Regions from separate parts of the Homo sapiens genome. Here all the other regions are linked to region 3. Evidence: promoter capture Hi-C in 16 types of primary human blood cells and fetal thymus (Javierre and others, 2016). All regions are on one chromosome and are shown on one strand. Each heading gives the region's core, a stretch centred on a gene start or on the middle of the fragment in contact. The rest is flanking DNA. Distances are from core to core; before and after follow the strand shown.

The links. Contacts are between HindIII fragments. The CHiCAGO score rates a contact against its expected background, and 5 or more counts as called.
Region 1: a fragment that was not itself captured here is called in contact with the fragment with the promoter of LINC00853 in region 3 in 2 of 17 cell types (megakaryocytes and erythroblasts); the score reaches 10.8 in megakaryocytes.
Region 2: a fragment that was not itself captured here is called in contact with the fragment with the promoter of LINC00853 in region 3 in 2 of 17 cell types (erythroblasts and megakaryocytes); the score reaches 10.6 in erythroblasts.

What each region holds. Positions count from the first base shown.
Region 1 is chr1:47,302,173-47,304,872 of GRCh38, forward strand. STIL (STIL centriolar assembly protein) reads right to left here. Exons shown (of 17, transcript NM_001048166.1): 4 at 62-174. Among named protein-coding and RNA genes, the nearest start is that of STIL, 11 kb to the right of the region's middle. The HindIII fragment of the contact is 2,245 bases long and covers 163-2,407 here.
Region 2 is chr1:47,279,996-47,282,695 of GRCh38, forward strand. STIL (STIL centriolar assembly protein) reads right to left here. Exons shown (of 17, transcript NM_001048166.1): 11 at 2,350-2,464; 12 at 246-1,214. Among named protein-coding and RNA genes, the nearest start is that of STIL, 33 kb to the right of the region's middle. The HindIII fragment of the contact is 6,113 bases long and covers 1-2,700 here.
Region 3 is chr1:47,177,817-47,180,516 of GRCh38, forward strand. It overlaps LINC00853 (long intergenic non-protein coding RNA 853), which reads left to right and starts at 1,434. Exons shown (of 2, transcript NR_047498.1): 1 at 1,434-1,622; 2 at 2,052-2,523. CYP4A22-AS1 (CYP4A22 antisense RNA 1) reads right to left here and starts at 1,807. Exons shown (of 6, transcript NR_199717.1): 1 at 1,374-1,807; 2 at 309-633. RefSeq lists an enhancer at 1,305-1,806. The HindIII fragment of the contact is 3,617 bases long and covers 1-2,180 here.

The sequences.
Region 1 (2,700 bases), core at 35-2,534, 120 kb after region 3:
AGCCTCCCAACGTGCTGGGATTACAGGCGTGAGCACTGGTCCATTTTTAAAAGTGTATTACCTTCGTCTGCTGTCAGAGAACCAAGTAAAAAGCATGACGAATTTTTTTTATTCTGCTTAGCATGACGATAAGCAAGTCGGATGGTCTTCTCAGTCACCACAAGCTTTGGATTTCTGAAAAACAACAAGTCTTTTATGAATATGGTAGACCTCATATCTTAAAAAAACCTCCTGCCATAAAATGCTGTCTAAATTATAACACACATTTTTAAAAATGTACAGAAAGATCATTGTCAGGAAATCCCAGGGTCAAAGGCAGGGGATACGGAGGGCCACTTGGAAACTAGAATGGCAATAAACAGACACTGAAACTATAGTTGTTCTCCAGGCATTTTGTTAACTTTATGAACCTCAGCAGGTAGGTCTCCTGTTTTTGTAAGTAAATTTTGATTGAAACAGTCACATCTGTTTCTTTACATACTGTGTATGGGCTTCAGATATAATCAGCATTACAGTAGTGCCCCCTTATCTCTGGGAGACATGTTCCAGACCCCCAGTGGATGTCTGAAACCACAGATAGTAACAAATCCTATATATACTATGTTTCTTCCTATACATACGTATCTATGATAAAGTTTAATTTATAAATTAGGCACAGTAAATGATTAACAACAATAATTAATAGTAGCATAATTTTAACAGTATACTGTAAAAAAGTTGTGTGAATATGGTCTGTCTCTCAAAATACCTTATTGTATTATACTGTGGGTAACTGAAACCATGGAAAGTGAAACCATGCATAAAGGGGGGAAACTACTGTATTGAATACAAAATATAGTATGATTTAAATGCTTTAAAAAATGTAAAAGGAAAACCAAAATATAAGCCAGGAATAAGATACTACGAAAAAAGACCAGGCAAATTTGAATAAAAAAGCCATACAGAACTTAAAGAAATAAAAAATATAATTTGCAAAAATTCAATAAGTTATATAATTAACTGGGGATAGGTACACAAATGTGTATTGTTATTCTATTAACTATGCATATATACTATAAGTATCCTCTCATATATATGGTACACCGCCACGTTTTAAAAAACCTAAATGAGGGCCAGGCGTGGTGGCACATGCCTGTAATCCCAGCACTTTGGGAGGATGAGGCAGGTGGATCACCTGAGGTCAGGAGTTCGTGACCAGCCTGACTAACATGGTGAAACCCCATCTCTACCAAATACAAAAAAATTAGCCAGGCGTGGTGGCACATGTCTGTAATTCGAGCTACTTGGGAGGCTGAGACAGGAGAATCGCTTGTACATGGGAGGCGGAGGTTGCAGTGAGCCAACATCACGCCACTGCACTCCAGCCTGGACAACAACAGCAAAACTCCTCTCAAAAAAAACAACCAAACTTAAATGAATAGGTTAGATGGCAGCTAAGCACAGCTAAAGAGAAAATAAGCAGACTTGAAAAACAAAGGAAACTACTCAAAATGTACAGAAAGACAACAATAAAAAAAATAAAAACAGGACTAACCATTATTTAGTTGAACTTCCATAAGACTCTCCCTATTTTTGTCAATGGTACCACCCTTCTCTGCCAACTAGTGTTGAACCCGAATACTTTCTTTCTTGTATCTTTCCTTCAGTTCCTCTATTCAGTCAATCATCAAATACTACAAATTATTTATTCAAAACACCTTGTTTCATTCTTTCCTCTTGATCTGAATACTGCTACATTGCTCTAAGTCCTTATAATGTATAATAGATGCCATTTATGAAATACTTTCTATTCCAGGCACTGTGACAATTGCTTTACAGAGTCTTATTTAACCCCTACAAGAGAACTGTGAAACTGGTATTATTATAGTCATTTTATAAATAAGGAAACTGATCCTTGGCTACTTTACTGAGGTTGCATAAATAAGTACTAGAATCAGGATTTGATTCCCTAGGCAGTCTGCTCCAATTATTGCACCGTTTTTTTTTCCTTATTTTGTTTTTTTTTTTACTTTTTATTTTAATTTTTTATTGAGACAAGGTCTCACTTTGTTGCCCAGGCTGGTTTCAAACTCCTGACTTCAAGCAATCCTCCTGCCTCAACCTCCCAAAGTGCTGGGGTTACAGGTGTGAGCCACTGCACCCAGCCCAGTTATAGCACCTTAAACCATTACAATATACACCTGTGTGATTACAGAAAAGCATCTTGAAGCTAGGCTGACTCAAGGCTCTCCCCGCCATAATCTATCCTTCTTAGAATACTACTTTTAACAAGTAACTCTTATGTACAAAACCTCAATAGATCTATTTTCTATTACTTTACACCTAAACTTTCTTGTCTGTCAAGGTCCTAGATGTAACTACAAGATTTTATATTCCTTCTAATCTGATCCACTCAAAAATTGGTTCAAGCTTCTCAACGTTCCACAAAGACACCATGCTGACATAATAAAAAACACTTTCAGTTTTTACTATATTTCACCTCTTTTGAATTCCTACAATATGCAGAATTTGCAGAAAACTGGGAAGATAAGATTATCTCTCAAAAGTACAAGGAACAGATGTTAAGAAGCAGAAGGAAAATTTTGCCTGAGGGGAGATTCTAAAAGAAAAGTAAAGAAAAATGAATAATTGGTCATAGTAATCAACTTTGCCTTATACATCTTTGTATTACTCTTGTTTATACTGGCTTGATTTGAAAAA
Region 2 (2,700 bases), core at 21-2,520, 100 kb after region 3:
GTAGGTTAGGATATGCATAAGATGGTTCTACTACTAACTAGCAACGTGGCATTGGGTTAAATTATTCTCTCTAATCCTCATTTTACTTACCTGTAAAACAAGAGGGCCTAGAATTCAGTTTCCAAGGTCCCTCCTAATTCTGACATTCTATACTTCTATAAAACATCATTACTGAGGAGAGGTGCCAGTTTTTAAGAAATCTTAATACCAAGAAATTAATAGAACTAGGAAAGCACCAAGCAAACCTGTGCCTGAAGTAGTCTTAGCTGTCTGTCTTGTTCTGTGAGGAACCGATATGCATCTGGAGATAGTCCCATCATTCCATTATCTGACTCAGTCTTGGGTGTGTGCATGCACACTGTGCAAGGCTGTGGGTTACATAAGTCCATATGTGAAGGCGGTCTTGCCACAGGCGATGGTTCAATATTGCTGTGGGGAGAACAACTGCCCATATCTCCCTGAGGTCTCAAGGCTATAGGACTACTTGAAGAACAGAATGCATTACAGTACAGGGCTGGACATCCACTTGGGTGAAATAATGAATGCTTTTGAAGGGCTTCAGACTGGACATCTTGAATGGATCCAACTGTGTTTGCTCCTTGCCAAGAATTTAGCGGACTATATTGAATATGACTATGATGCTGACAACACCTGCAAACGTTTGTGGAACAGTAAGATGGCAGTGGGGGAGTAGGTATCTGAAGTTCCATTGGTCTTCCTGAATTATGGGGTGAAAAAACAAAATCGTGTGGTTGGGACTGCGGGGCAAGAGAAGACTGCCTAGAATTAAGTGTGGAGGGTCTTATAGGATACTCTTCGTTTTGTACATTTCCAGCAGAAACTGTTTGGAGCTTTTCAAATATATCATGAGATGGCCCATTATGAGAAGATGGTTTAATACTGTTCCTGGTATGGGGGTTCCCTTTCTTATAGGCAGGTGGCTGTCTTACTTTGCAGTGTCTCAAAAGAGCTGGTTTATCCTGGTTTAACTGATTTGGTATTCCTCTCAAGGAAGGCTCTCCAGCTTCAACTTCTGGACTGTGTTTCTCATCATAAAGCTGGGGTTGCAATGGCTTCAAGTGTTCCAAGTGGTTAATCAAAGGAGGATTTTCATTATTCACCATTTCCAATGGAGTAGGCAGAGGGTTTGATTCTATGAAATTGCCATCCAACACAAGTGAAAGTTCAGGAACTGATGGTTGGATCTTAGAAATCTACAAATAAGAAAGAAATAGAAAAAAAAAGTATTTTTTTGGAGAAACTGTATACTTTACTTTCCTCAGACCAGTATTTCCCAAATTATATCTAATTACATATTAACAAGTGTTCATTCTTTATTTAGACCATCAGTTAATTTTTTCTGGGCATGTTTTATGTGCTAAGCACTAGGAATGCAATTGTAAGCTAAATAAACAAGGTCCTTGCCCTAAAAGAATAAAACTAAACACTTCCCAAACTTATTTAATAATGGAACTCTTTTTATTAAAACACTAACACTGCTAAGATCACAGAACACAATATGAGAAACTGTTTTATATAACTTTTTAAATCCTCTCTGCAAAAAATAAAATTGTCACAAGCAGAATGTTTTCACAGATCTAGTAGCAAATGTTTATGTACCTTAAATAGTAAAATCTTCCAATAAATGTTTCAAAATATTTCTCCACTAAGAAGTCACTCACTGTTATTCCTTCTATTGATATCAACTAAGAGGTGGAAAGCAAAAAAGAGTAAACAAAATACTCGCTGTGATGAATTTGGTTATAATTTGATATTAGCTTTAAAAAATCCTTCCCATTCCTTTTTCTTCTAAAATAAGAATTAAACAATTCTAAAATGACCCACAGGTTGGTAGCAATAAAAAAATTATGACAAGAATTTTAGCAATTAACCTCTGAAAGCAAGTATAATGTTTTCTCAGAATATAGTGATAAAAACCAATGTCAAGCTCTAGTGATAGTATATAATGTTGAGTCTATATGGTTATTAAAAGTACCAGATTCTAAAACCAAACCTCCTGAAATAGAATCCCAGCTTTACTACTTACTAGTTGTGTGTCTTGGGTAGGTAACTTAACCAATCTATGTCTCAGTTTACTCTAGGAATAACCATACATGCTTATTACATAGATATTACACATATGTATATATCATTACATATAATATGAATTATTATATATAACTGTGAAATACTTATATCTCTATATATAGATATAACCATAGAGATAGAAATAGCTAGATATATCTAAGAATGATACTTAGGTTTCAGGTAGTATTATTTAGTGTTTTAACCATGAAGAGACTTAGGTCTCTAACCACAAAAGTGAATGCATTTTAAAATCAGTGATACCTTCTGACTCACTGGATGAGGACTAGGAATTGGTCTTGGAGAAAAATCTTCATCTTCAACACCAGAGTCGTGATCATGTATTGGCATCTTCCCAGAAGATAACTTTTGGGAAGACCTAAAGAATAGAAGGGGAGACCAGAAAAGCCTTTGGTAATCCAGTGTTTTCTTTCTTCTAGAAATTGAATAAAGTCCTTTAATAAGTTGCAGTAGTACTCAGATCATTTAATTTAGTATCTGACAACCACAAATTATTTTATTTTTCAGGCCAGTGTTAGTTGACCAGGGAAGCTGGACCAGCCAGCCTTAATAAACTACCCTATTTACCTGATGATAGCAAGTTTAACCTTGTAT
Region 3 (2,700 bases), core at 184-2,683:
TGGGCTTAATATCTAGGTGATGGGTTGACAGTTGCAGCAAACCACCATGTTTTTACCTATGTAACAAACCTGTACATCCTGCACATGTAGCCTGGAACTTAAAATAAAATTAAATTAAAATTAAAAAGAAAACAGCACCACCACCATCAAGGAAAGCCTGTTCCCAACCTCCAATTCCAGCTCACTAGCTCAGCCTGTCTCATTCCCCTTTTTCTCTCTCCCCTCTCCTCCCTGCCCCTTTCCTCACTTTGCCCCCACCTGTCCTCACCATCCCACCCCATACCTCCAAGCTCACAGCTAGAACTGACCAAAGGCCCAGTTATTTATTTACAAAGTCCATGTCCAGAACTGTACCAGCCTCAGCGGTGTGGAATAAACTGGTGTGGCCAGGTCCATTGTGCTGATGCCTCAAGAGATCCAGGCTGGTACAGATGGGTCTGGCACATTCTGTACCTGCCAGCCAAGCAGAGCATCCAGCTTACTTCTCACTCGACTCCTTACATAACGCTCGTCGGGTACTCTCCATTCCTTGGGCTTAAATTCCATAGTGTAATATTAGTAAACCAGGCTAAATGATCCTAAGGATCTTGCTAGCTCTGACGCACCGTGATCTTGCATCCAATTCAGTTCACTCTGTAATAAATAATCATAATAACAATAGTAATTTTCCAAATAGCTAACAGTTATTGTGTACTGTATGCTAAGCACTATTCTATGTATTTCATGTGAATGTTTAACATTCATAACACCACTTATCATGTAGACATCATTTACTGCCCTAATTTACAGTGAACTGGAGCTCCGAGAGTCACGTTGATTTAACCACAGTCCCAGGCTACCAAGTGTCCAAGCTGTGCTGCTTCCAAGCTGCCTGACCCAGACCTGAGCTCTTAACCTCTCAATGGGCATCCAGGTCGAAAGCAGAATCTCTGGCTCAAGTGCCGACTGCCCAGCTGTTTCAGAACTCCACCATGCACCCAACTGCTCCTCCAGGACTTCCCTACGGATGTGTTGCAGGCTCTGAAACGTCACACATCCACGCCGCATCCTCATCCCACACATGCTCCTGCTTGTCCCTGGCATCTGCCATTCTCAGTGCCATTCACTAGCCTATATGATGCCTTCGAATCAGAGGAAGTTACCTCTCCCTCCAGGGATACGGGCCCACACCTGGTCTCAGGGACCCTTTAGTGGAGGCACAGTCTATATAGCCCAGAGCAGTGCCCCTGATGCCATCGTCTTCCAATTTGCTCAGAGCAGACACTGGGATTCATCCTTAATATCTCTCTCTTCTCTCTCTCTCTCTCTCTCTCTCTCTCGCGGAGGCCCCACTGCCCTTGCATTCCACAGGAAGTCCCAGTTGCTGGCATGACCTGAGAGGTTCCTGGGACCACGCCATGGAAATGCGTCCGGTCCCAGTGTGACGGGGAAGAGCCGCGCCTGAAGCTCAACTTCCGAGGCTCTCATCAATCTACGCTTCCTTTGGAGCGTGCAGCCACCAGGTGGCAGCCGAGGCCACGGGCAGACAGAAAAGCTCCCGAAACTGAAGGACTGCCAGGCAGCAGAGTTCCGGAGGGCTCCCAGGACCTTCAACCAGAAAGAGACAGAGCATATGCGCATATGTATGTCTGAGCCCGTGCACGGAGGAGGAGTATGAACAGACACCGCGGGACAGATGGCTGGAGTTTAGTCCCTTCCTTCGGGGCTCTTCACCACTCCTTGGGCTTCCCTTCTCCTGTCCAGCCCTGTCCTGGGTGCACAGAGAGGGAAGTCACTCCATTCCTGCCCTTGAGGAGCTCCCAGACCCAGGGCAGGAGCAGGATGCAGACAAGTAGACAGCACCCTGGGGTGGGTGGAGTGAGTGGGGCAGGTGGGGCGGGTGCAAAGAGAGGGAGGAGCAGGGGCTGAAGTTGCCCGGAGGAAGTGCTGAACCCAGGAGTGGGGAAAGGAGCATCTGGGAAGAAATGGCATCTACGCTGATCATGGAGGGCTTTCTGGCAAGTCTCAGGAGCAATAATAACACGGATGTCATCTCTGTTTCCTCCCAGCAGCCCTGCAAGGAATGTACTATAGAGCCAATTTTACCGGCAAAGGAATGGAAGATCTGAAAGGCTAGGCGATCCCACAAGCATCGAGGAGCAGGCTGGAATTTGAACCAATCGGCATGATTCCCAAGCTCAAGCTTTTGGCCACCCCTGCACTGCCAGGGACAAAAAAAAAAAAAAAAAAAAACCCTGGGAGGAGAGCCAAGCTAGGGAGTCAAGACCCTCCAGCCAGGTCTGGATGGGAGGCAGGTGCCTCCACCCTGGTCCCAGAGCAAGTTCTGCTGGCTTCAGCCACCTGACTTCCCTGTGAAGGTGGGTAGAGGCCAGAGCAGACTGTGTGTGATTCTGGCCCCAGCCCCAGCACCTCTACCCCCACCTTTACTACCCCTAGGCTGCGGGAAGAGGCTTTGCCCAGCAATAGTCCTGATCTAATGGATCCTTGAAGCACAATAAACAGATAGTATTTCTGCATGTGTCACTCTGAGTATGACGGCAGTAATCTTGAAACTCCCCTTGACCACCTGGCACTCTGGAGACGGAACTCCACAGCCTGTTTTCAAAGCCAACTCCTGGCTGGAAGTTCCTCTTCAAGTCTAAATGAAGTAAGCAGTGCTGCAGTCTTCCCTCAACTGTGCAGTTGCTGGGTGGAGGCTTT